Linked DNA regions of Homo sapiens: all the other regions are linked to region 3. Evidence: promoter capture Hi-C in 16 types of primary human blood cells and fetal thymus (Javierre and others, 2016). All regions are on one chromosome and are shown on one strand. Each heading gives the region's core, a stretch centred on a gene start or on the middle of the fragment in contact. The rest is flanking DNA. Distances are from core to core; before and after follow the strand shown. Region 1 holds the start of LOC124904416 (a long non-coding RNA gene). Region 2 overlaps RPRD2 (regulation of nuclear pre-mRNA domain containing 2). Region 3 holds the start of CA14 (carbonic anhydrase 14). Region 4 overlaps RPRD2 (regulation of nuclear pre-mRNA domain containing 2). Region 5 overlaps RPRD2 (regulation of nuclear pre-mRNA domain containing 2). Region 6 overlaps RPRD2 (regulation of nuclear pre-mRNA domain containing 2). Region 7 overlaps TARS2 (threonyl-tRNA synthetase 2, mitochondrial).

Region 1 (3,527 bases), core at 616-3,115, 230 kb after region 3:
GGATTACAGGCATGAGCCACCATGCCCAGCCCTTTTATTTTATTTTTAGAGACGGGGGCCTCACTCTGTTGTACATGCTGGAGTGCAGTGTCATAATCATAGCTCACTGTAACCCAACTCCTGGGCTGAAGCAACTCTCACCTCAGCCTCCTGAGTAGCTGGGACTACAGGCATGCACCACCATGCCCAGCTAATTTTTTTTATTTTTGTAGAGATGGGATCTCACTATGTTATCCAGGCTGGTCTTGAATTCCTGGGTTCAAACGGTCCTCTGCCTTGGCTTCCCAAAGTGCTGGGATTATAGGTGTGGGGCACCATGCCCAGCCTATGATGGCATTTTAAAGCAAAGTTAAAGATTGGCCCCATCCCAGATCTTCCACTTACATTACTAGGGAATTATTTTTTAAAAAATAAACCTAACTTCCCTACCACTTGTGCCTTTAGCCACTTGGCTACTTCTCTGGGCCCCAAAGGTTTTTGTTAGCAATGACATAATCCTTTCTTTTCTTTCTTTTTTTTTTTCTTTTTTTTTTTTTTTTTTTGAGACGGAGTCTTGTTCTGTCTCCCAGGTTGGAGTGCAGTGGCATGATCTTAATTCCTTGCAACCTCCACCTCCCAGGTTCAAGCGATTCTCCCGCCTCAGCCTCCCGAATAGCTGGGACTACAAGCGTGCACCACCATGCCCAACTAATTTTTTGTGTTTTTAGTAGAGATGGGTTTCACCATGTTGGCCAGGCTGGTCTTGAACTCCTGACCTCAAGTGATCTGCTCACCTCACCCTCCCAAAGTGCTGGGATTACGGGTATGAGCCACCACACCCGGCCTCATAATCCTTTCTTTATATATTTTACCTTATTCCTTTTTTTTTAACCTCTAATATCTTTTTTTTTTCCTTTGAGACGGATTCTTGTTTGGTTGCCCAGGCTGGAGTGCAGTGACACGATCTCGGCTCACTGCAATCTCTGCCTCTGGGGTTCAAGTGATTCTCCCACCTCAGCCTCCCAAGTAGCTAGGACTACAGGCATGCGCCACCACGCCAGGCTTTTTTTTTTTTTTTTTTTTTTTTTTTTTTGAGACAGAGTCTCTCTCTGTCACCCAGGCTGGAGTGCGGTGGCGCAATCTCGGCTCACTGCAAGCTCCGCCTCCCGGGTTCACGCCATTCTCCTGCCTCAGCCTCCCAAGTAGCTGGGATTACAGGCATGTGCCACCACACCTGGCTAATTGTGTATTTTTGGTAGAGACGGGGTGTCTCCATGTTGGTCAGGCTGGTCTCGAACTCCCGACCTCAGGTGATCTGCCCGCCTCAGCCTTCCAAAGTGCTGGGATTACAGGCGTGAGCCACCGCGCCTGGCTAATTTTTGTATTTTTAGTAAAGACGGGCTTTCACTATGTTGGCCACGCTGATCTCAAACTCCTGACCTCAGATCCACCTGCCTCAGCCTCCCAAATGCTGAGATTACAGGCGTGAGCCACTGCATCCAGCCTTCTCTTTTTTTTTTTTTTTTTTTTTTGAGACGGAGTCTTGCTGTGTTGCCCAGGCTGGAGTGCAGTGGTGCGATCTCGGCTCACTGCAAGCTCCGCCTCCCGGGTTCACGCCATTCTCCTGCCTCAGCTCCCGAGTAGGTGGGACTACAGGCGCACGCTGCCACGCCCGGCTAATTTTTTGTATTTTTAGTAGAGACGGGGTTTCACCATGTTAGCCAGGGTGGTCTCGATCTCCTGACCTCGTGATCCACCCGCCTCGGCCTCCCAAAGTGCTGGGATTACAGGCATGAGCCACTGTGCCCGGCCTCTGCCTTCTCTTTTTTTTTTTTTTTTTTTTTTTTTTTTGAGACAGGGTATCATTCTGTTGCCCAGGTTGCAGTACAGTGGTGCAATCACGCCTCACTGCACTGGATCTCCTGGGCTCAAGCAATCTTCCCACCTTAGCCTCCCAAGGCACATACCACCATGCCCAGCTAATTTTTTATTTTTTGTAGAGATGGGGGTCTCACTATGTTGTCCAGGCTGTTGTCGAACTCCTGGACTCAAGCAATCCGCCTGCCTCAGCCTCCAGTGTTGGGATTACAGGCGTGAGCCACCACACCCAGCCAAATATACTTTCTACATCTTTAGTGCTTCTAAGAAGTAAGATAGATTTGGAGGTATGTGCTGATCCTGAGGACAAGTGGAAAATATTTACATGTAGTTTAAAGTTACATGTAGTTTAAAGCTATAAAAACAATACCTTCTGAACTAGGACTCTAGTCACCTTGGAATTTCTATTCCAAAAGTGGAGTTAAGCTGAGAATTTCCTAAAATTTTACTAAGGGCCTAGGACACCCTTCACTGTGGATTCCCTTTTTCCTGCACTTCTGTGGAAATCTAGCTTTATTTTGTGCACACTTTTTTCCTTAACCTTAATCTGGTAGAGAAAAGTCGGAAGACGCCTCTTTTCTTGGCTTTCTATTGGACCCACCTCTTTTACCCTATATCAAAGGCCTATTTGGCCACAAGTATCAGAATCTTATAACCTGACACATTATGACCAATCTGGTCCCTGAGAGGCAGTATGGCATAGCATAAACAACAAGGGCTTTGCATTCAGATAGACTGGGGGCTTTACTTCTTTGAGAATCATTTTCCTGTTTTAAAGGGAGTATACTTGACATAGTTGTTTTAGGAATTAGGTGAAATAGTGAAGGCATAGCACCGGGTGTTCAGTAGTAGTCTAGGGTGGAGGGGCAACAGCCCAAGTTTTAAGAATAGATGTTTCAAGCCAGGCATGGTGGCTCACGCCTGTAAACGCAGCACTTTGGGAGGCCAAGGCAGGTGGATCACCTGAGGTCAGGAGTTCAAGACCAGCCTGGCCAACATTGTGAAACCCCATCTCTACTAAAAATACAAAAAAATAGCCAGGTGTGGTGGCGGGCACCTGTAATCCCAGCTACTCGGGAGGCTGAGGCAGGAGAATCGATTGAATCTGGGAGTCGGAGGTTGCAGTGAGCCAAGATCGTGCCATTGCACTCCAGCCTGAGCAACAAGAGTGAAACTCCATCTCAAAAAACAAAAAACAGGCCGGGCACAGTGGCTCACGCCTGTAATCTCAGCACTTTGGGAGGCCAAGGTGGTCGGATCACGAGGTCAGGAGTTCGAGACCAGCCTGACATGGTGAAACCCTGTCTCTACTAAAAATACAAAAATTAGCCGAGCGTGGTGGCGCGCACCTGTAATCCCAGCTACTCAGGAGGCTGAGGCAGAAGAATCACTTGAACCCGGGAGGCAGAGGTTGCAGTGAGCCAAGATAGCGCCACTGCACTCCAGCCTCGGCGACAGAGCAAGACTCTGACTCAAAAAAAATTAGCTGGGTGTGGTGGCGTACACCTGTAATCCCAGCTACTGGGGAAGCTGAGGCAGGAGGATCACTTGAACCCAGGAGGCGGAGGTTGCAGTGAGCCAAGATCATGCCACTGCACTCCAGCCGGGCAACAGAGCAAGACTTCACCTCAAAAAAAAAAAAAAAAAAAAAAAAAAGAATAGATGTTTCC
Region 2 (3,562 bases), core at 127-2,626, 180 kb after region 3:
AGAATTGGTTTTAGGGATGGGGTCGGATTTTGTTTTTTAGTGACTACAAAAGTCAAGCATGTTAAGTGGTAATAGCCATCTGGTTATTTTCCTGCATTTGCGTTGAGTGTTTCAAATGGTTCATTGTTTGTGTTAATAAATACTGCCCTGTGCCCTTACTGTTGGAGAATTTTTGCACAGGGTGTCAGTTCTTACTAAGCTGTTTGGTAGTAAGCATATATCAGCAGTCTTTAGACTGTCTTTTGATTTAGATTTACAGTAAGTGGTGTACTGTTTTGTTAAAAGGAATTATGTATTATATGCATGTAATTAAGTTATTGAACAGAAGTTTGTGATAATCTGCTACCATGACCGTCATTTTACTAGAAATTTGCTTTAAAAATGGCATCTTCTAAGAAGCTGTTAAATTCTTCATTTTAATTTGTTAATTGGTATTTTTAAGCCTCCTCCCCTATTCTTTTCAGAATTGGTAATTTCGCTGATGATAAAAATCGTGTTTATTTGACAGCTTCTTAGATCGGGTAGGAATTTCTATTTTTTCATAAAAATGAAAGAAAAGGAAAGAAAGAAACAACACACAGTCTCGGATTGCCTTTTTTCATGCTGCAACTTTGGCACTGAAGTGGACAGACAGAACAGCTTCCCATAATGCCAGATTGCAAAAACTGAAATGTTTTCCAGGTACCACTTTCAAAACTCAGAAGCAGCTGAAAGAAAATCTGAACAAACAACCGAATAAGCAGTGGAAGAAATCACAAAGTAAGGAACAAAATCTCAACTAATATAAAATTACCTCCTCTTTTTGGAGCAGAAGAAAATGTAGACCATTTGACATCGTACCTGGCATAAACCATGGGCAAGCCTGTTTTCCAGGTCTGGGAGGCTCCCAGTGACCTATGCTAAACAAGCCATCATGGAGATACTTCTAAAAAAAAAAAAAAAAGCAAACAAAAACTACACTTTAAAACAAAGGAAATGCAGAAAAGGGTTTAATTGAGTGAAGATTCAAGAGTAGTTGGGGGATTGCAAGAAGAAAAAAATACTTGATAGTGTCCAGGATAATTTTCAGGTTCAAGGATATATGATGTTAGAGGCAGCTGGCATTAAACAACAGATCTGAAGAGGAGACTAGGCATTAAGAAGCATTTCTGTGGGAACCATGAAATCTCCAGATTTGGGGGATATACTCTACCAAATTAGACATGGACCTCAGATCCTGGCCAGAAGCTCATTCTGTAATGGGAGCTCCTGTTATATTTATCGTATTTACCCAGCATGAGATCAAGGGAATGGAATACTGCATGTGATAGGCTGCTGTGGGCAAACTGAGGAATATTGAGAGAGACTTGAAGGTGTGGAGGGAACAAAGTAAAAGACAGTGAGAATTGGGAGGTGAAACGAGATACTTGGGATGGTTTTGCTCCAGCGAGCATATGATATCCATCATGATTAAGGGAGTCCTCAGACATCTTCTTGGTCATAAGTTGCATGCTTAGGAACAACAGGAGTCGTCATTTCAGCCAAAGTTCCACCACAGTATTAATATACCTAGAAGTTTCCTTGCCTATTTTTGCTATGAATTGAGTCAGCAGAAAAAGAAATTCAAAGGATAAATTTATAGGAATAGAGTTATTTGTCACCAATTTTCTTCAGCCAGTGCTCAGGATTAATTGGATGTCCTGTTCCTGAACACTCTTAATTTGAGGTATTTAGATCCTGTTACACCCAGACTAGGAAAAAAAGGTACTTGATGTATCTCGGTGTCTCCAAATCAATAATTCTAGGACTTTATGACCTGAAGGGTCTGTTGGAGGTAAGTAGGTTAGGTCTGTCTAAATAGCGTATTTTTACATTGACCACATTTAGGAATGTTTAAATTTCCTAGTCCATTATTTATTTTAGGAATTATGACTTAAATGTGCATGTTTGCCATATGTTCAGAGTATATCTTTAACTATAGAGCTAAAATTTTTCCTGTTAGTCAACTTTTTGTGTCTGTATTCTTAATGACCTTTTGTTTAATTCCAACAGCATCTACAAATCCAAAAGCTGCTCTCAAGTCTAAGATAGTTGCTGAATTTCGAGTAAGTTACAGAATTTGTTTAATATAGCAAAGTATTATTCACCCCTTTTGTATTATAGTTTCCTGTATAGTCCAATAAGATTTATCTGTATTCAATTACACATGTCATGTTTTAAACATGCATGAACTGTTCTAAAGGAACCCAGATTGGGATTAGATTGCTTGGCGTTTTATCTGTTCCCCTAATGGTAGAAATAACCTTCTTCCAGTATATCTATTATCAGCTGAGTTGCATATTCAATTTATGCCAGCAAGAGAGTTTATTTTCCTGTGAAACTCTTTCTAAATTAGAATTTGCTTAGAATAACAGAAGGCTATGTTTATGTAATTAAAATTTAGAGAGGCTATATAAATGGACCTTTGTCTGTTTTAGTCTTAATTCTGTATCCATAAATTAGCTTTGTGTAATGAAGGAAAAGGATCTTTTAAAGTCTGTAACTAGGCTGGGCGCGGTGGCTCACGCCTGTAATCCCAGCACTTTGGGAGGCCGAGGTGGGCGGATCACGAGGTCAGGAGATCGAGACCATCCTGGCTAATACGGTGAAACCCCGTCTCTACTAAAAATTAAAAAAAAAAAAAACAAAAATTAGCTGGGCGTGGTGGCGGGCGCCTGTAGTCCCAGCTACTCAGGAGGCTGAGGCAGGAGAATGGCATGAACCCGGGAGGCGGAGCTTGCAGTGAGCCGAGATCGTGCCACTGCACTCCAACCTGGGCGACAGAGCGAGACTCCATTTCAAAAAATAAATAAATAAATGAAGTCTATAACTAAACATGGTTTTGACATGATAATTGATCATTAATATCTGTCACCATGAGAAAAAGTGAAAAGTTTTTTTCCTCCCAGGGTTTTGTTAAGCTTTAGGGTGTTTGTTTTGTTTTGTTTTGTTTTGTTTTACAAAATGAGGAGAGAGAGAATGAGAATAATTGAATGATCTTGTAAATGAAATATGACTCTGGTCTGTGTTTAGTCTCAGGCCCTAATTGAAGAGCTGTTGCTATACAAGCGCTCAGAAGATCAGATAGAACTGAAGGAAAAGCAGTTGTCAACTATGAGGGTGGATGTGTGCAGCACAGAAACTCTCAAATGCTTAAAAGGTAATGCTTACATCCTTTTAGAGTAAGTCAGATTTTCTTTCCATATGTGTCATTTTTCCAGTAATCATACTGGTTTACCTCATAAGGAGATCCTTGGGTAGAAAGCAGTTGTGGCACCTCTGGTTTCCCAGGTAGTTATTTCATGCATATAAATTTCATAAGTAAATTCTGTTGTTCTCATTTCTAGTACTTTCTTGGTGTACTAGGTTATATATAGACAGTTGTATTTCACATGTATGGTTAATTGGTATGGGTATGCTCTTTAATGAAGTCACTCTAATGCCTCATAAAATCTAGTTAGACCATCTAGTTTCCTTGCATTGTAAATTGTAAATCATACTAATAATTTATTATAATGTAAGCCTCATGAAGGCAGAAATTATA
Region 3 (3,744 bases), core at 749-3,248:
TATCCACAGTAAAGCCAAAGATCAAGATAAAGTCAAGTGCCTGGAGGACGGCGCTCGCCTTCTGGCTCCCTCTGTCCTAGAAAGGAGGGCCTTTGTCGTCTGGGAAGCATAAGCACCTGGATGCGTTGCTCACCCAAGATCAGGGAAGTGTTGATTCCAGGCTAAGATATCTTTGTGAAACAATGTTCAGTTGCGTAGGCAAAATCCCAAAGCCCAGCAGCAGTGAAATACCTCCCAGAAGGAACCACATACACAAAGCATTTTAAATTAAAATTTAAAAATTCATAGACGAGCCAGGAGGTGGCGCCTGGCAAGACACGCTATCTGCCTTGGAAATCGGAATCTCAGCTCAGCGCTCCAGGGGAACTCTGTTCCGGCAGAGGTCATTCTGTTCAGACCTCTTCTTTCCTACTAAATCTCTTCTTTCATACCAAGATGTCTCTGCTTTCTTTTTTTGTTTCTTTGTGTTAAGTACCCTGATTCCCGGGAAATCTAATTTATACTTCAAGTCTTTTACTCTTCTTAGATGGGATGGATGGGGCTTTGGGGAACCTCAAAACATAAAACTTTCCTGAAGGGGACAAATAACTCAGAGGGTGATAGGAGAAGAAAAAGGGAAATGACATCAGCAAAATGGCTTGGCTTTGCAGATCAATCACAGGGGATAGAAAGGCACAGTGAGCTCCTGTCTCTGCAGGAGCTGATGATCCAGCACATGCATTATTCTGTTCATTTGGCTTTTATCCTGCTCCCTTATTTAGCTTCTGCTCCCTTTGTTTGGCTATTTATTGCTACTCGGCAGGAGCAAGGAGGGCAGAGGGAGCTTCAGATGGGTGCATCCTCCTGGCTGGTGCCTCTGGTGAAGAGCATGGAGGAGAAAGAGGTTTCAATGTCTGGCTTGAAAGTATCTGTGGGTTTCACATTCTCTAACGAGGGATTTAGGATGTACATTCCAATCGGGATTTCCAGTCCCGTGGGGAGCAAACATCAGTTCACATTCCTGAGACGTGCAGCCTCCATGCTCCACGGACGCAGCTCCTTGGTGGCAGGTTTCATTCAGTGCCACATGTCCTGCCTCAGCCCTTTGTTGGGCTGGAAGGAAGACCCTGAGCCCCTCTTCCATCTGGATCACATGGTCTCTCCAGACCCTCCCCTCTCTTTCTCTGGAAACCACCTTTTTCTGATGGTGGTAGTGATTGTTCCTAAAGTCTCTCCTTTCCTCCTGCCCTGGCCTCTCTGCCGGAGGTCAGTGTCCTCTTCAGTGACAAAAGCCGCCCTAGATCTGGGCTCCCTGGAGAGGGAGGTGGCTGGGTCTGGCAGTTACAGCCGCTGTCTCTCCATGGTGCTGCTACACCCCTCCCCCACTGGGCATACAAATGGGCTTTATCCAGCAAACAACGCTCCCTCCCCGCACTCCCCCCACCCCAGGCCACACAGGCACGTGGACCCAGGCCTCACCGTGGGAAGGGGGTGGTGGCAGGCACAGAAGAGATTGCTCCAGATGAGTTCTCCTTGCCTCACTTCTCTTCCTTAGAACTTAGGACACAACTCAGGTTTTAGTTATTGACTTCCTCCACCCCTCCCCTGCACCCTGAGTCCCTAATTCCTTCTTGTTATATATCTCCTAATTCTGGACTCTTCCCATTCCAGGGCAGCTCAGATTATGCAGGGAATTGGGAACAGGTACCCCCACCATCTGCCGCATACCACCCAGGGAGCTGCTCCTCAGAGGAGAAATCAGGCGGGGGGATGAAAATACAGTGTCCTTTTGAGGGGGCTGAGTTGAACCCCAAAGCCCCTTCCTTGACCCTGCCTGCTCCAGGGAACACCCATCTAAACAGCATCTGTGTGACTAGCAGAGGAAGGAAGAGCTCACCCCAGCTGGGCTCCTGAGCCAGGGCCAGGGCTCCAGTGAAACTTGCCGCGCTCCAGCTCCGAGTGGGGCCATCCTGCATGCCTAATTGGCTATTTAAGGAGCTGTTCACCAGCAGCCCAGGCAGCACCCCCGTCCCCACATACACCAGTTCAGAGCCACCTTAAAAGCAGGAGGCAGTTGTAAAGTCGCTGGCCAGCTAGTGGAGTGGAGACTGCAGAGGGAGATAAAGAGAGAGGGCAAAGAGGCAGCAAGAGATTTGTCCTGGGGATCCAGAAACCCATGATACCCTACTGAACACCGAATCCCCTGGAAGCCCACAGAGACAGAGACAGCAAGAGAAGCAGAGATAAATACACTCACGCCAGGAGCTCGCTCGCTCTCTCTCTCTCTCTCTCACTCCTCCCTCCCTCTCTCTCTGCCTGTCCTAGTCCTCTAGTCCTCAAATTCCCAGTCCCCTGCACCCCTTCCTGGGACACTATGTTGTTCTCCGCCCTCCTGCTGGAGGTGATTTGGATCCTGGCTGCAGATGGGGGTAGGTACAACTAAATGTCTGTGTGTGGATTTGTGCTGATGTTCACATGTCGCCAGGTGTGCTTAATGGGGGGAGGAGAGGTGTGAAAGGAAGCCTAGAGGCTGGAATAATAGGCTCAGAGATGAGGAAAAAAGAGTGGGGTGTGGAGGAGACCACTTCCCTTCTTTACCTTTTGTCTCTCCAGCCTTGTTGTTATTGGAGGTCGGGGAGAACTAGCGGCAGGCAGGCAGAGTGTGTACACATGCAAGTGCTGGAATCTCTTTGCAGGCTACAGATTTTCTCCAGAGCTCTTTCCCCCACTGCCCTGGTCCCAGGCAGGACTCCTGGACTTCTTTATTTACAAACTCCTCCAAATAGGGAGTCAAAGAGGCCTGGAGTAAAAAGATGGATAGATGGGGGTAGGGGGAAGAATACTTCCTGCCCAACTCAGACCCTGATCTCCAATTCATCCCCTTTTGGCCAAGATTCCCTCTTCATTCTGTGGAGCGACTAACTCCCCAGTTATCCTCTGAAAGTGGCAGTAAGAGTCAACATTTGTTTGACATTTTACAGTTTACAAAGGACTTTCAGGAGCTCCCAGGAGATGAGGAGGGATTCTTGGGAGAACAGGCTGAAGCGCTCCAGGAGTGTCCCCAGGAACTCCTAGACCTCATTTTTGTGTTTCCTGTGCCTAGCACAGTGTCCAGCACATACTAGGTGTGTAACTGAGGTTTGTGGAAAGAGCAGGGTGAGGTGGGTGTCCAGAGAGCAGAAGGCAAATGCAGAGAGGATGGGGGCAGGCAGGCAGCCAAATGGAGAGTCACAAATCTCATCTGAGGAGAAAGAAAAAAAGAGGGAAAGAGGAGGAAGAGACAGAATAAGTGTGTTGAGGCTCTGACCAGAGTGGACAGGCACCTTTACAGACCAGGGAGTTTGAGTTGTTGGGGGGTCCCACAGATATGGTAAAATGAGAGGCTGCCTCCAGCTCTCCCTTGGGCTAGCAGAATAGGTCAAGGATAAGAGCAGGACATCTCACAAGTTTGAGGAATTTAAGGGAATAAGAGACAGAGAGAGGAAGGAATTTAGGATTTTTCTCCAGAGTTTCTAGTAGTATGAATATTGCAGCATAAACCATGAAGGCCTTCGTTTTCTTCTTGAGGCAGTTTGGCCGTAGGGAGGGGCTGGACCTGCAGACCCTCAGCCTTTGCGTCAGACAGGACTGCACGAGAGCCTGGCATGTGACCCAGCTGGCAGCTCTCTTCTCTACACACAATGCTTCACTTTCATCCTGTCCCTGCCAGCCTGGCTGCCTGTGCCCACCCACCACCCTCAATCTAGAGTAGACCCTGCCCTGACT
Region 4 (3,623 bases), core at 78-2,577, 160 kb after region 3:
GGAGGCCAAGGCAGGTGGATCACCTGAGGTCAGGATTTCAAGACCAGCCTGCCAGCATAACATAGTGAAACTCCATCTCTACTAAAAATACAAAAAAATTAGCTGGGCTTGGTGGCAGGTGCCTGTAATCCCAGCTACTTCGGGAGGCTAAGGCAGGAGAATAGCTTGAACCCGTGAGGCGGAGGTTGCAGTGAGCCGAGATTGTGCCATTGCACTCTAGCCTGGGCGACGAGTGAAACTGTCTCAAAAATAATAATAATAATAATTAATAAGTAAATACAAATAAGAATCAAATTAAAATACAAGAAGCGAGGATAAGCCAGGTGCAGTAGTTCATGCCTGTAATCCCAGCAATTTGGGAGGCTGAGGCGGGCAGATTGCTTGAGCCCAGGAGTACAGGACCAGCCTGGGCAACATGGCAAACCCTTGTCTCTACTAAAAATACAAAAAAAAATTAGCCAGGCATGGTGGCATGCCTGAAGTCCCAGCTACTCGAGAGGCTTGAGGTGGGAGGATCACCTGAGCCCAAGGAGGCTGCAGTGAACTGTGATCGCACCACTGCACCCCAGCCTAGGTGACAGGAGTGAGACCCTGTCTCCAAATAAACAAAAAACACAAAAAAAGAAGCAAGCATAGTTAATGGAGCATAAGGTTCTCAAGGTGTGAATAGAGTCTAGGAAACAGTACGTAGTGGAAGGATTACTCTTTAATAGGAGTGATGCTTTTTACTAGGTAAATTGATCTAGGTGAGTTTAAATATGGATACATTTTTTGTGACAAGATAATTTCCATTTAATGATTTTTGCCTTCTCTGTGAAACAGCATATAAGCTTATCTCCTGAGAGTGAGAAGAAGAGATGTGGTAAAGATTCGGGCCTGACAAGTGGTTAAAATTTGAAATAGTTCTTTGAGAGAGGATGCTGACTAAGCACATGTGGAGGGACTGTATGTAGCATTGCGGGCCCAGGTGAAGAAGGAGACTTTTAATTCGTATGATTTAATTTTTTGTATGTGATTTTAGAACCCAGCAGCAGAAATAAAGGTGCAGTAAATGCAGTTAGTTAGATTGATCCAAATTTGGGATTTCATTGAGCACATGAGATAGAAGGCTGAATTAGGGAGAAGGACAAGAGTATGAGGGTTTTAATAAAATATTGGTTTAAATAATGGACAGAGACTCTGGAATTGATGAAGAATTGAGTACTGAGAAGAGAATGTAGAGTTAGAGAAAATAAAAAGCTGAGATCTTGATGAAATTGAAGAACAAGTATAATAGGAGTGGGAGGTTGTGATCAGAGAAGGAGATTTTAAAATGTACAAAGGAGTGGTTCTTGGAGGTCACCGAATGTGAGGTCAAGGAACTGAGAGACAAGAAAACATGGTAGATCATCCATATAGACATTGAAATTACCCAGCATAATAATGAAATTTAAGGTGACTTTGCTCAGGGTTCCAGATAGTACATTGATGGGGCTTTGTCATGAACCATTGAAAAACTTAACCGACTGGGTGTGGTGGCTCACACCTGTAATCCCAGCACTTTGGGGAGGCCAAAGCAGGCAGATCACCTGAAGTCAGGAGTTTGAGATCAGCCTGGCCAACATAATAAAACCCTATCTCTACCAAAAATACAAAAAAATTAGCTGGGCGTGGTAGTGCACACCTGTAGTCCCATCTACTTGGGAGGCTGAGACAGGAGAATTGCTTGAGCCCAGGAGGCGGAGGTTGCAGTGAGCTGAGATTGCGCCACTTCACTGTAGCCTGGGCGACAGAGTGAGACTCCATCTCCAAAAAAAAAAAAAAAAAAACAAAAAGAAGAAGAAGAAAAGCTTAACCTAGATGCATACATAGGATCATATTATTTTGCAGGACATTCGTCTAGTGATGAAAGCAGCAGCAGAGCCTCCCTCCAGTAGATGGGAAGACTAAGACGTATCTGAGTAGTATCTGGATTGGTTGATGGGGAGAGGGTCTATCTGTAATAAATGTTAAGCAATTTGCTTGAGGTCACATTCTGATTTGATTACAAAGCCCATGCTCTTTCTACTAACCTTGGTATTTCTGCAACAAGTTGAGCATGTTCAACTCATTTTTTTTTTGTCTTCTCAGATGTTTGAGACTATAATTTTGTTTTATTTTAGCTTCTCCAGAGTTACTGGGTCTTTTTTTTTAGTGCCAAACATCTACAAAGTGAGGGAGAAATGTCCTTGAGGAGTACCTTGAACAGAAACTTAACGTGAAGTAGTCAAGGTTTTTAGTATGTTTGGTAAACTGATCCATTAGTTCATTTGTCAGTTTATCCATCCAGCCTCCCTTCCATCCATTAGTTCATTTGTCGGTTTATCCATCCATCCTTCCTCCCTTCCATCCATGTAATTACATTCATCTTTTTATATCCATGTAAGAAAAAAAAAATAACCAGTTACAGTTTGAGAACACTGTATTTGGAATAAGTTGAACTAAGTGCAAATTGACTCATTTGGTTTTATTTATTGTCTTTTGTCATCTCTAGCTGCATATCCCCACCGTTTGAATCTCTTTTACCTTGCCAATGATGTCATACAGAACTGTAAAAGGAAAAATGCAATCATATTCCGTGAATCATTTGCTGATGTACTTCCTGAAGCAGCTGCTCTAGTGAAGTAAGTAAATCTTTATTGCTCTATGGGATCTAAACTTAGACAACTTAGAATTTTAGTTTCTTAACCCATTAAGAACTGTAATAATTGAACATGCTTGAAGATTAAGGATAATTTGCCTAAATGGTTGATTATTACTTTCTTGTTAACACACGTTTTTCTTTCTTTCTTTTCTTTTCTTTTCTTTTTCTCTCTCTCTCTTTCTTTCTTTCTTCCTTTCCTTTCCTTTCCTTCCTTTCTTTTCTTTCTTTCTTTCTTTCTTTGAGACAGAGTCTCGCTCTGTTGCCCAGGCTGGAGTGCAGTGGCGCGATCTCGGCTCGCTGCAGCCTCCGCCTCCCGGGTTCAAGCAATTCTCTTGCCTCAGCCTCCCAAATAGCTGGGACTACAGGTGCGTGCTACCATGTCCGGCTAATTTTTTGTATTTTTAGTAGAGATGGGGTTTCACCATGTTAGCCAAGATGGTCTTAATCTCCTGACCTCATGATCCACCTGCTTCAGCCTCCCAAAGTGCTGGGATTACAGGCGTGAGCCACTGTGCCTGGCCATGTTTTTCTTTTAAAAGCTCTCTCTTCTGTTTTCAAAAGCTGGTCTCCTGTTTATCCTTACTTGACCATGTATGTCTCCTGGTGATAATCTCTGAATGTGCTTCCTTCTAACTGCTGTGTCTGTTTTGTTTGTTTGTTTTAACACATTTCATTTCTTCTTTCTGAGTCTTACTGAAATTTTTTTCCCTCCATGAAATCTGTAAAGAGAAACGGAAATTATTTCCCACCATCATACTCCCAACTCCATGTTGATTTAATTTCATTTTTAGCGGTAGTTGGATCCAGCACTTCCCACAGTGTATTCCTATGAAATGATCAGAGGAAGAAGGGTTCTGTGCTCAAAAAAGTTTAGAAAATGATCCATACTACTTTTCCTTTCCTGAAGATTCAAAGTTCACATTACCATATCAATAATTTTATTTCTTTTTGGAGCTTTACA
Region 5 (3,494 bases), core at 970-3,469, 200 kb after region 3:
TTTATAACACTGAAATGAAAATATTTGGGATATATTAGGATGAATAAAATAGAATTTTTAAATTACATGTGTCTGTTTCTTTTTATTTGTTTGTTTTTGAGAGAAAAAGAGAGTTTCCCTCTGTCGCCCAGGCTGGAGTGCAGTTGCGCAATCTTGGCTCACTGCATCCTCCATCTCCTGCGTTCAAACAATTCTCCTGCCTCAGCCTCCCGAGTAGCTAGGATTGATTGTAGGTGCATACCACCACACCCGGCTATTTTTTGTATGTTTATTAGAGACGGAGTTTCACCATGTTGGGCAGGCTGGTCTCGAACTCCTGACCTCAAGTGATCCGCCTGCCTCGGCCTCTCAAAGTGCTGGGAGGTGGGCTTGAGCCACCATGCCCGGCCCTGATTCTTTTTTTGTTAATTTGGCTGCTAGAAAATTTAAACTTACATATGTGGCATATGTGGCTTAAATTGTATTCATGTTAAATAGCACTGTTTTGGGATGAGGGGTCACTTATACTGGAATTCCTTATTCTCTGTCACTTTTGACCATCAAGAATTCCAAAGTCAGTTTGTTAATCACACTTTCAGAAATAACCTGATTTGGTGAATTGTTTCTCTTATATCCCCAGCCTTCATAAATCTTATTAGATAGTTTGACTCCTGTTGAATTCAATGCACTATTGATACAGCCCTTAAAGCATTAAAAATAATTATTCAAGGTGATTGAGAGTTAAAACATTGTAGTTTCAAATTAGCTAGTGCCTGATTGCACCCCCCAATAGGGCAATTTCAGGAAGCCAGAGGAAAATACAATGAACACTATAGAGGTTCTGTTTCTAAGAACAGAAGTTCTTAGAAAGTTCTCAGGTTAATGGAAAAGAAAAACACAGGACAATTTATGAAAAATATCATTTCCAAAAGACAGAACACAAATGTGTACCAAATAATAACATGCTTCTTGAATTGTACAGATTTAATACACAAATACTAAGAAAATGCAAAGGAATCATTGAAAAGTAAGATACAAGATAAATTCTGGAAATTGCTTGCTTTTTTTTTTTTTTTTGAGACGGGAGTCTCGCTTTGTTGCCCAGGCTGGAATGCAGTGGCACAATCTCGGCTCATTGCAACCTCTGCCTCCTGGGTTCAAGCGATTCTCGTGTCTCAGCCTCTGTAGTAGCTGGGATTATAGACGCCTGCCACCACACCTAGCTAATTTTTTGTATTTTTTGTGGAGGCAGGATTTCACCATGTTGACCAGGCTGGTCTCGAAATCCTGACCTCACATGAGCCATTGTCCCCAGCTGGAAATTGCTTTTAAGCAGATATTAAAGGTGGGAATTATCATAAATTATGAAGAGTATGACTTTTTCAAAAAAGCATGAAGTGAGTCGTTGTTTTCTCTAAAGTAGTGCCTTTTCCCCCAAGTCCGGAAATATTAGGACATGTTATTTCATATAGGAAGCAAAGTCTGGAAAGTAGTAGGATGTAATATCTCTTTTCTTTGTTGAAACAGTCGAGGACAGGAAGGAAAAACCTGCAGAGAAGTCAGCTGTATCCACTTCTGTACCTACAAAGCCAACAGAAAATATCTCAAAGGCCTCTTCATGTACCCCAGTGCCTGTGACCATGACAGCAACTCCACCTCTTCCAAAGCCTGTGAATACTTCTCTTTCCCCTTCCCCAGCATTGGCTTTGCCAAACCTGGCTAATGTGGATCTGGCAAAGATCAGTTCCATCCTTAGCAGTTTAACATCAGTCATGAAAAATACTGGTAAGTAAGCCCAGTAAGGAGGATAAAAAGTTAATTTCCATCTTTTTAAATTGAATCATTAATCTGTTTTTGGGGGGGTTGTTGTTGTTGTTGTTGTTGTTGTTTAGACAGAGTTTCGCTCTGTCTCCCAGGCAGGAGTGCAGTGGTGCAATCTTGGCTCACTGCAACCTCTGCCTCCCGGGTTCAAGTGTTCTGCTGCTTCAGCCTCCCAAGTAGCTGGGATTACAGGCACCTGCTACCACGCCCGGCTAATTTTTGTATTTTTAGTAGAGATGGGGTTTCACCATGTTGGCCAGGCTGGTCTTGAACTTCTGACCTCAGGTGATACACCCACCTCGGCCTCCCAAAGTGCTGGGATTATAGGCGTGAGTCACCGTGCCCAGTCTGTTGTTGATTTTTTTTAATTAATGATTTTTTTTTTTTTTTCTGAGACGGAGTTTCAGTCATGTTACCTAGGCTGGAGTGCAATGGTGCAAACTTCACTCACTGCAGCCTCCATCTCCCAGGTTCAAGCAATTCTGCCTTAGCCTCCCAAATAGCTGGGACTACAGGCATGTGCCACCATGCCCAGCTAATTTTGTATTTTTGGTAGAGACGGGGTTTCACCATGTTGGTCAGGCTGGTCTCAAACTCCTGACCTCAGGTGATCCACCCATCTTGGCCTCCCAAAGTGCTGGGATTACAGGCGTGAGCCAGCGCACCCAGCTAAATTAATTGTTAAATTAAAAAATAATCCAATAATCGGTCATTATAGAAAAATTAGAAAATAAGCAAAGAGAATGAAATAAATATCTAGGCCAGGCGTGGTGGCTCATGCCTGTAATCCCAGCACTTTGGGAGGCTGAGATGGTAGATTGCCTGAGGCCAGGAGTTCGAGACCAGCCTTGGCAATATAGTGAGACCCTATCTCTAAATAAAAAATTTTAAATGAAAAAAATTTTTTAATAAATATCTATAATCCTGTTACCCCAAAGGAAACCACTTGTGTTTACCCTTAAAAGTATATGTGTATATGAATGTTTTGGAGAATTAAATATGTATAACAATTTTTAAAAAAGTAAGTGTATTGCATATACTGTTTCAAAACTAGCTATTTAAAAGTTAATTACATATCTTGAATGTTTTTATGAATCATTAAATATTTCTCTACATCATTTTTAATAGCTGCATAGCATGTGGTAACTTATCTAATCCTTTATTATTAGGCACTTAGTATGTTTCCAGTTTTTTACTGTTATGAAGAATACTATAGGGCCAGGTGTGGTGGCTCACGCCACCACTTTGGGAGGTGGAGGCAGGTTGATCACTTGAGGCCAGGAGTTGGAGACAAACCTGGACAACATGGCGAAACCCCATCTCTACTTAAAAAAACAAAAATTATGGCCGAGCGTGGTGGCTCACACCTGTAATCCCAGCACTTTGGGAGGCCGAGGCGGGTGGATCACGAGGTCAAGAGATCGAGACCATCCTGGCCAACATGGTAAAACCCCGTCTCTACTAAAAATACAAAAAAATAGCCAGGCATGGTGGCGGGCGCCTGTAGTCCCAGCTGCTCGGGAGGCTAAGGCAGGAGAATGGCCTGAACCCAGGAGGCGGAGCTTGCAGTGAGCCAGGATCGCGCCACTGCACAGCCTGGGCGACAGAGCAATACTCCGTCTCAAAAAAAAACAAAAAACAAAAATTAGGCCAGGTTTGGTGGCTCACGCCTGTATTTCCAGCACTTTGGGAGG
Region 6 (3,697 bases), core at 355-2,854, 130 kb after region 3:
CTGCCTCCTAGACTTCAGCCATCCTACCACCTCAGCCTCCTAAGTAGCTGGGACTACAGGGGTGCACTAGCACGCCCAGCTAATTTTTGTATTTTTTTGTAGAGACGGGGTCTCACTATGTTGCCTAGGCTGGTCTTAAACTCCTGAGCTCAAGCAAACCACCCACCTTGGCCTCATATAGTGCTGGGATTATAGGCATGAGCCACTGCACCTGGCCCAGACATAATTTTTAAATAAAATTTTAGCTTTGCAGTAGTTTTGGATTTATAGAAAAGTTGTGAAGATAGTACAGAGAGTGCTTGTATGTGTGTGTATATATGTATGTGTATATACATGTGTATATACACACACATATACATATATACATGTATACACATATACACGTATACACATGTATATACGTGTATATACACATGTATATATATACATATATACATGTATACACACATATATATGTATATGCATATATACACATACACTATATATATATACCCGCGCACACACACACACACACACACACACATATATACACCCTGCATCCTGTTGCCCTTGTTGTTAACATCTTACATTAGTATGTTACGTTTATTAAAACCAATGAATCAATATTGATATGTAATTTTTTTTTTTTTTTTGAGATGGAGTCTCACTCTGTCGCCCAGGCTGGAGTGCAGTGGCGCGATCTTGCAACCTCCGCCTCCTGGGTTCAAGCGATTCTTGTGCCTCAGCCTCCTGAGTAGCTGGGACTACAGGCACACACCACCACACCCAGCTAATTTTTGTATTTTTAGTAGAGGCGGGGTTTCACCATATTGGCCAGGCTGGTCTTGAACCCCTGACCTCGTGATCTGCCTGCCTCAGCCCCTCAAAGTGCTAGGATACAGGCGTGAGCCACTGCACTTGGCCTAATATGTAATTATTAAGAGTCCATATTTTATGAATTGCCTTAGTTTTTACCTACTGTTGTTTTCTCCATAACTCCACATTTAATTATTATATCTCTTTAGGCTCCTCTAGATTTTGACAGTTTTGTTTTGTTTTGTTTTGTTTTTCCCTGCAGACAGAGTCTTGCTCTGTTGCCCAGGCTGGTGTGCAGTGGTACAATCACAGCTCACTGCAGCCTCGACCTCTCGGGTCTAAGCAATCCTCCCACCTCAGACTCCCGAGTAGCTGGGGCTATAGGTGTGCACCACAGGTATGCACCACTACACCTGGCTAATTTTTGTAATTTCTGTAGCAACAGGGTTTCACCATGTTGCCCAGGCTTGTCTCAAACTCCTGAGCTCAAGCGATCTGCCTGCCTCGGCCTCGCAAAGTGCTGGGATTACAGGTGTGAGCCACTGTGTCCACAGTTTTCTTTTAAGCTTCCCTAGATTTGGTCAGATATTTTGTAGAATGTCCCTCAATGTGGGTTTGTCTGTTTTTTTGTGGTTGTTTTTTGTTTTAATGATTAGCTGGGGTTATTGTTTCTTTGGAGGAAGACCACAGAGGTAAAGTTCCATTTTCATCACATGATATCAAGAGTGTCCATCCTATCAACATGTTTTACCGCTAATGATACTAACCTTGATCACCTGGCTGAGATAGTTTTTTTCAGATTTCTTCTTTTTTGAAGCCTCTTACACATTGTACTCTTTGGGAAGAAGTCACTGCACAGCCCACAATTTAGGGGAGTTATGCCGTCTACCTCCTTGAGGAGGCAGCATCTATGTAAATTTTTCAGAATTCTGTGTAGACATTAACAAGCACACATTTTAATGCATTACTGGGTGTACTAAAAAAGTAAGGGAGGTTTCCAAGGGTCTGTTCATTCACAGAAGTAAAGAGTCAGCTGAAACAGGAGCAGTGAGTAAGCTTGTGAGCAAACAAGACTGGCAACGTTTTCCTGAAGGCAAACGCTCACATCAGCACTAATGGGAGACTAAGCCTTGGGCCCCCAGAAACGTTGAAAAGCCCCTTGAGAAAGATGCTGAATTGAACCTGGGTCACTACTGCCCTTGACTCTCTGCCAGAGTAAATGCAAATACATTTTTAGAAAAAGCTTTCTCTGATTAGGCTTTCAGAATTCCCATAGATAAAATTCAACAAAATATAAGCTTACAATAAAAGAATTGCCAAACACAAAGAAATAAACAACTGTGGGTGAGATTTAATAGAAACAAACCCCAAAGACTTAAACTATTGAAATAATAAGATATGAAATATAAAACAACTGACCAGGCACAGTGGCTCACGCCTGTAATCCCAGCACTTTGGGAGGCCGAGGCAGGCAGATCACCTGAGGTCAGGAGTTCCAAGACCAGCCTGGCCAACATGGTGAAACTCCATCTCTACTAAAAATATTAAAAAATTAGCCAGGCGTGGTGGCACATGCCTGTAGTCTCCCTGCTGCTCGGGAGGCAGAGGCAGGAGAATCGCTTGAATCTGGGAGGCAGAAGTTGCAGTGAGCCGAGATCACGCCGTTACACTCCAGCCTGGGCGACAAGTGAGACTCCGTCTCAAAAAATAAATAAATAAATAAATAAAAAGAACCATGTATAAAATATTTAAATTAATAAAGGAATCTAAAATATATCAAGGAACAACTCTTAGACAGTTATGCAAATTTGAAAAAGAACCAAAGAGAAATGTTAGAAATAAAAGTATAACTGTTGAAATTGAAAACTTAGTGGATGATTTGAACAACAGATAAGACCATTGGCAAAGGGAGAATTCATGAACTGAAAGATCTGAAGTAATTTCCCAGAATGTAATGTTAAGAAATAAGTTAAAAGGAAGAGCATAATGAGTCTAACATGTGTGATTGAAGTCTTATAAGGAGAGAATTAAGAACAGGCAATATTTTAAAGGAATAATGGAGAAAATGGAATAATTGATGAAATATGTGAATATATATAGGGACCATATGCATATGAAGGAAGGGGGTTAAATAAAAAGAAATCTACTTGTACATACTTTATAGATAACTGAAGAATATCAAAGTCAAAGAGAAGCTCTTAAAAACAGTAGGAGAGGATGGGTATTCTATCCTCAGTATACAGTATTCTTACAGTATGAAACTATCACTGCACAGATCATGAAATGCAAATTGATAATTATAGATTATTAATTACTTACAAAGGAATGACAGATTGATAACTATGGAAGCAAGAGGACATTGGAATAAAATATTCAAAGTGCAGAGAGAAAACAGCCATCAAATTAGAATTGTCTACCTAGCAAAACTAAGTTTTAAGAACAAGGGCAAAATAAAGACATTTCCATAAAGACAAAAGCTAGAAACCAACAGATCTTCACCTAATGACCTTTATTTTATTTAATTCATTTATTTATTTTTGTAGAGATAAGGGTCTCATGTGTTGCCCAGGCTTATCTCAAACTCCTGGGCTCAAGTGATCCTCCTGCTTTGGCCTCACAAAGTGCTGGGATTATAGGTGTGAGCCACCACACTGGCCCATTAATGACCTTTAAAAGGACATATACTTCAGGGAAAGGAAAATAATCCCAGAAAAAAATCTAAGAGATAAAATGCAGTGCTAAGCAAGTAAATTGGTAACCATAAGAGTAAATCTGAATGAACATTTCCTGTATGAGATATTTAATTAGTATAGTTTAAAAAGCCAGGACAGGCCGGGATCAGTGGCTGACGCCTGTAATCCCAACACTCTGGGAGGCTGAGGCGGGCGGATCACCTAAGGTC
Region 7 (3,388 bases), core at 53-2,552, 240 kb after region 3:
TACCAGGCATATCACAGATACACTCGCCCTCAAGCCTATGAACTGCCCTGCACACTGGTAAGCTGGGAGCTAGGGTTACAATCAGGTTGCTAAATATTAAATAATAGAAAGCACCTTGGGGCCGGGCACGGTGGCTCACGCCTGTAATCCCAACACTTTGGGAGGCCGAGGCGGGCGGATCACCTGAGGTCGGGAGTTTGAGACCAGCCTGACCAACATGGAGAAACCCTGTCTCTACTAAAAATACAAAAAATTAGCCGGGCACGGTGGCGGGCGCCTGTAGTCCCAGCTACTCAGGAGGCTGAGGCAGGCTAATGGCGTGAACCCAGGAGGTGGAGCTTGCAGTGAGCCGAGATCGCGCCACTGCACTCCAGCCTGGGTGACACAGCGAGACTCCATCTCAAAAAAAAAAAAAAAAAGAAAGCACCTTGGAAAGAGTATTGGGACACCGATTTGAGCCTACAGTCTTCCCCCTAGCTAACCATGTAAATTTGGGAAACTCATTTTACCTCTTTAGGTCTCAGTCTCCTTAAAGTTGCTATCTAAGGCTCCTCCTTCAGCTCAGTGACCATCACAGAACAGGGAAATGGTAAACGATGTCTGTTATTGTGTTACTGAGAAATCCACTTTTGAACCTCAGGGCTCAGACTGTGATGAGTGGGATTGACAGGACTCAGTGGGAGGATGTGCTGAGGCTGGAGAGGGTTATAGCAGATGGTGCAGAGAAAGTAGGCAAGCAGATTGGGTGGAGGAGCAGTCTTCGGGGGCTAGTCCTCCCTATGGCCCTGACCCCTCTGCACCCCAACCTCAGCCTGATGTTCGCCCACCGGCCCAGATCCTGGCGGGAACTGCCCCTGCGACTAGCTGACTTTGGGGCTCTACACCGGGCCGAAGCCTCTGGTGGTCTGGGGGGACTGACCCGACTGCGGTGCTTCCAGCAGGATGACGCTCACATCTTCTGTACAACAGATCAGGTGGCCTTTCCCTGGCTCCACCAAAGCTTTTCTAAACCACCTTTCTTTCTCCCTATGAACCTGCAAACCCCTGATCTTTATTTGCCCCCTGTATGTACTATAATTCAGCTACATTCTACCCCCAGCTTGCTTCCGCTTCCTCTCTGTTTTTGCCCTTTGTTTTCCTCAAACTGCCAGCATCCCTGATCTCTAGCGGGCTCACAGCTCACTGACCCTTATTTCCTGCCCCTAGCTGGAAGCAGAGATCCAAAGCTGTCTTGATTTCCTCCGTTCCGTCTATGCCGTTCTTGGCTTCTCCTTCCGCCTGGCACTGTCCACCCGGCCATCTGGCTTCCTGGGGGACCCTTGCCTTTGGGACCAGGCCGAACAGGTGAGTAGGAGGTAGAGAAATAGAGGCAGATAAACCACTCTCTGGTGGGAAGGAGTGGAGAATACAGTAATCAAGGTTCTCAGAGGCATCTGGTGAGTGGGTCATTTGTTGGGGACTGACCGGATGTGTTGCTTTTGAAGTCTAAGATGATGTATTCCACTCTTGTCTCATTCCTTCAAAGGTCCTTAAACAGGCCCTGAAGGAATTTGGAGAACCCTGGGACCTCAACTCTGGAGATGGTGCCTTCTATGGACCTAAGGTAAGCTTGGGACCCTGGTTAGTGTTGTATTTATTTATTTTTTGCTTTGTTTTAGTAAATATTTAATAGATACAAAGAATTTTTTTTTTTGAGACAGTCTCACTCTGTCACCCAGGCTAAAATGCAGTGGTGTGATCTCAGCTCACTGCAACCTCCAGCTCCCTGGTTCAAGCAATTCCCCTGCCTCAGCCTCCCGAGTAGCTGGGATTACAGGTGTACGCCACCACACCCGGCTAATTTTTTTGTATTTTTAATAGAGATGGGGTTTCGCCATGTTGGCCAGACTGGTCTCGAACTCCTGACCTCAGGCAATCCACCCCACTTGGCCTCCCAAAGTGCTGGGATTACAGGCGTGAGCCACCGCACCCGGCCACAAAGAAATATTTTTAAACTTACGTAGGATATAAAGAAAAACAATATACTTTCTGCCCTCTTGGCATCTGCAATCTAGTGAGGGCTGCTGAAGGTAAATAGGCCATATCAGTGCTGCGAGATCTGTGCTGTGTAGGTACCAAGAGAGCACGTTAGCTGGGGTTAGCATTACTCGGGGAGGTTACAAAAGGTGTCCTGCAGGAATCACTTTCCAATCTGAAAGGTGAGTGTTGGCCAAGTAAAGATGTGTTTCAGGAGGGAACAGTGTAGGCAGAGGCTGGGGATAAGGATGAAAACACATGGCAGACCAATCTGGGCAACACAGGGAGACCCTGTGTCTACCAAAAAAAAAAAAAAAAATTAGCCGGGTGCAGTAGCTTGTGCCTGTGGTCCCAGCTACCCAGCAGGCTGAGATGGGAGGATCACCTGGTCCCAGGAGGTAGAGGCTGCAGTGAGCCGAGATTGCGCCCCACTGCACTCCAGCCTGGGTGATAGAGTGAGACCCTGTCTCAAAAAAAAAGAAGCCAAGGGGAAAAAAGGACTGAAAAGTGTCCACTGGATTTAGTAAAAAGGCTGCTGGATTTCAAAGGACCATTTTCAGTAAAGTAGGGCCTGAGGGTGGAGTTAGAAGATGAATAAATGAGGCCTGTGTGGTGGCTCACGCCTGTAATCCCAGCACTTTGGGAGGCCGACGTGGGTGGATCACTTGAGGTCAGGAGTTCGAGACCAGCCTGGCCAACGTGGCGAAACCCCATCTCTACTAAAAATATAAAAATTGGCCGGGTGAGGTGTTAGGACACACCTGTAGTCCCAACTACTCAGTAGCCTGAGGCAGGAGAATCGCTGAACCTGGGAAGTTGCAGTGAGCCAAGATCACACCACTGCACCCTAGCCTGGGCAACAGAGCAAGACTCCGTCCCAAAAAGTAAAAATAAAACAGGCTGGGGGCGGTGGCTCACGCCTATAATCCCAGCACTTTGGGAGGCTGAGGCAGGTGGATCACCTGAGGTCAGGGGTTTGAGACCCTGTCTCTACTAAAAATACAAAAATTAGCCCAGCGTGGTGACAGGCACCTGTAAACCCAGGAGGCGGAGGTTGCAGTGAGCCGAGGTCGCACCACTGCACTCCAGCCTGGGCGACAGAGTGAGGCTCCATCTCAGAAAAATAATAATAAAATGAAAAATAAAATAAATGCTATGATGAGAGGAAGTCTATTTGGAGGGAGAAGTTGTTGTAAAGGGAAGTTCCTGGAGAGGTTTAAGGTAGGATTGAGAAGCCTTCATAGAAGGGATCACCATTGCCATTGTATCCAGGGTGGAAGGAAAGGCTGAAGGTAGATGCAAGGAAGTTTGTAGGCATGGTAACAGGAAGTTGAGGCTCTTCCCATCCCATGGTATCAATTATCTGAATTCT

The links. The method cuts DNA at HindIII sites, captures the fragments that hold promoters and counts their contacts. A CHiCAGO score of 5 or more calls a contact.
Region 1: a contact is called between a fragment that was not itself captured here and the fragment with the promoter of CA14 in region 3, in 4 of 17 cell types (M1 macrophages, endothelial precursors, M2 macrophages and 1 more). The highest score is 10.5, in M1 macrophages.
Region 2: a contact is called between a fragment that was not itself captured here and the fragment with the promoter of CA14 in region 3, in 5 of 17 cell types (M1 macrophages, M2 macrophages, M0 macrophages and 2 more). The highest score is 9.6, in M1 macrophages.
Region 4: a fragment that was not itself captured here is called in contact with the fragment with the promoter of CA14 in region 3 in 2 of 17 cell types (M2 macrophages and M1 macrophages); the score reaches 5.6 in M2 macrophages.
Region 5: a fragment that was not itself captured here is called in contact with the fragment with the promoter of CA14 in region 3 in 5 of 17 cell types (M2 macrophages, M1 macrophages, megakaryocytes and 2 more); the score reaches 9.9 in M2 macrophages.
Region 6: a fragment that was not itself captured here is called in contact with the fragment with the promoter of CA14 in region 3 in 1 of 17 cell types (M1 macrophages); the score reaches 7.0 in M1 macrophages.
Region 7: a fragment that was not itself captured here is called in contact with the fragment with the promoter of CA14 in region 3 in 7 of 17 cell types (M1 macrophages, endothelial precursors, M2 macrophages and 4 more); the score reaches 11.6 in M1 macrophages.

Annotation. Positions count from the first base shown.
Region 1 is chr1:150,481,001-150,484,527 of GRCh38, forward strand. LOC124904416 (a long non-coding RNA gene) reads left to right here and starts at 3,511. Exons shown (of 2, transcript XR_007066600.1): 1 at 3,511-3,527. The HindIII fragment of the contact is 5,385 bases long and covers 1-3,527 here.
Region 2 is chr1:150,441,200-150,444,761 of GRCh38, forward strand. RPRD2 (regulation of nuclear pre-mRNA domain containing 2) reads left to right here. Exons shown (of 11, transcript NM_015203.5): 4 at 682-759; 5 at 2,032-2,084; 6 at 3,052-3,178. Among named protein-coding and RNA genes, the nearest start is that of TARS2, 44 kb to the right of the region's middle. The HindIII fragment of the contact is 3,121 bases long and covers 1-2,937 here.
Region 3 is chr1:150,255,776-150,259,519 of GRCh38, forward strand. It overlaps CA14 (carbonic anhydrase 14), which reads left to right and starts at 1,999. Exons shown (of 11, transcript NM_012113.3): 1 at 1,999-2,408. The coding sequence starts at 2,354. RefSeq lists an enhancer at 189-883. The HindIII fragment of the contact is 8,593 bases long and covers 1-3,744 here.
Region 4 is chr1:150,415,084-150,418,706 of GRCh38, forward strand. RPRD2 (regulation of nuclear pre-mRNA domain containing 2) reads left to right here. Exons shown (of 11, transcript NM_015203.5): 2 at 2,513-2,642. Among named protein-coding and RNA genes, the nearest start is that of RPRD2, 53 kb to the left of the region's middle. The HindIII fragment of the contact is 999 bases long and covers 829-1,827 here.
Region 5 is chr1:150,458,554-150,462,047 of GRCh38, forward strand. It overlaps RPRD2 (regulation of nuclear pre-mRNA domain containing 2), which reads left to right. Exons shown (of 11, transcript NM_015203.5): 9 at 1,507-1,764. Among named protein-coding and RNA genes, the nearest start is that of TARS2, 27 kb to the right of the region's middle. The HindIII fragment of the contact is 5,293 bases long and covers 1-3,494 here.
Region 6 is chr1:150,388,001-150,391,697 of GRCh38, forward strand. The region is part of intron 1 of RPRD2 (regulation of nuclear pre-mRNA domain containing 2); the gene reads left to right. Among named protein-coding and RNA genes, the nearest start is that of RPRD2, 26 kb to the left of the region's middle. The HindIII fragment of the contact is 490 bases long and covers 1,360-1,849 here.
Region 7 is chr1:150,497,691-150,501,078 of GRCh38, forward strand. TARS2 (threonyl-tRNA synthetase 2, mitochondrial) reads left to right here. Exons shown (of 18, transcript NM_025150.5): 10 at 1-57; 11 at 812-974; 12 at 1,207-1,344; 13 at 1,526-1,603. Among named protein-coding and RNA genes, the nearest start is that of MIR6878, 7.0 kb to the left of the region's middle. The HindIII fragment of the contact is 608 bases long and covers 999-1,606 here.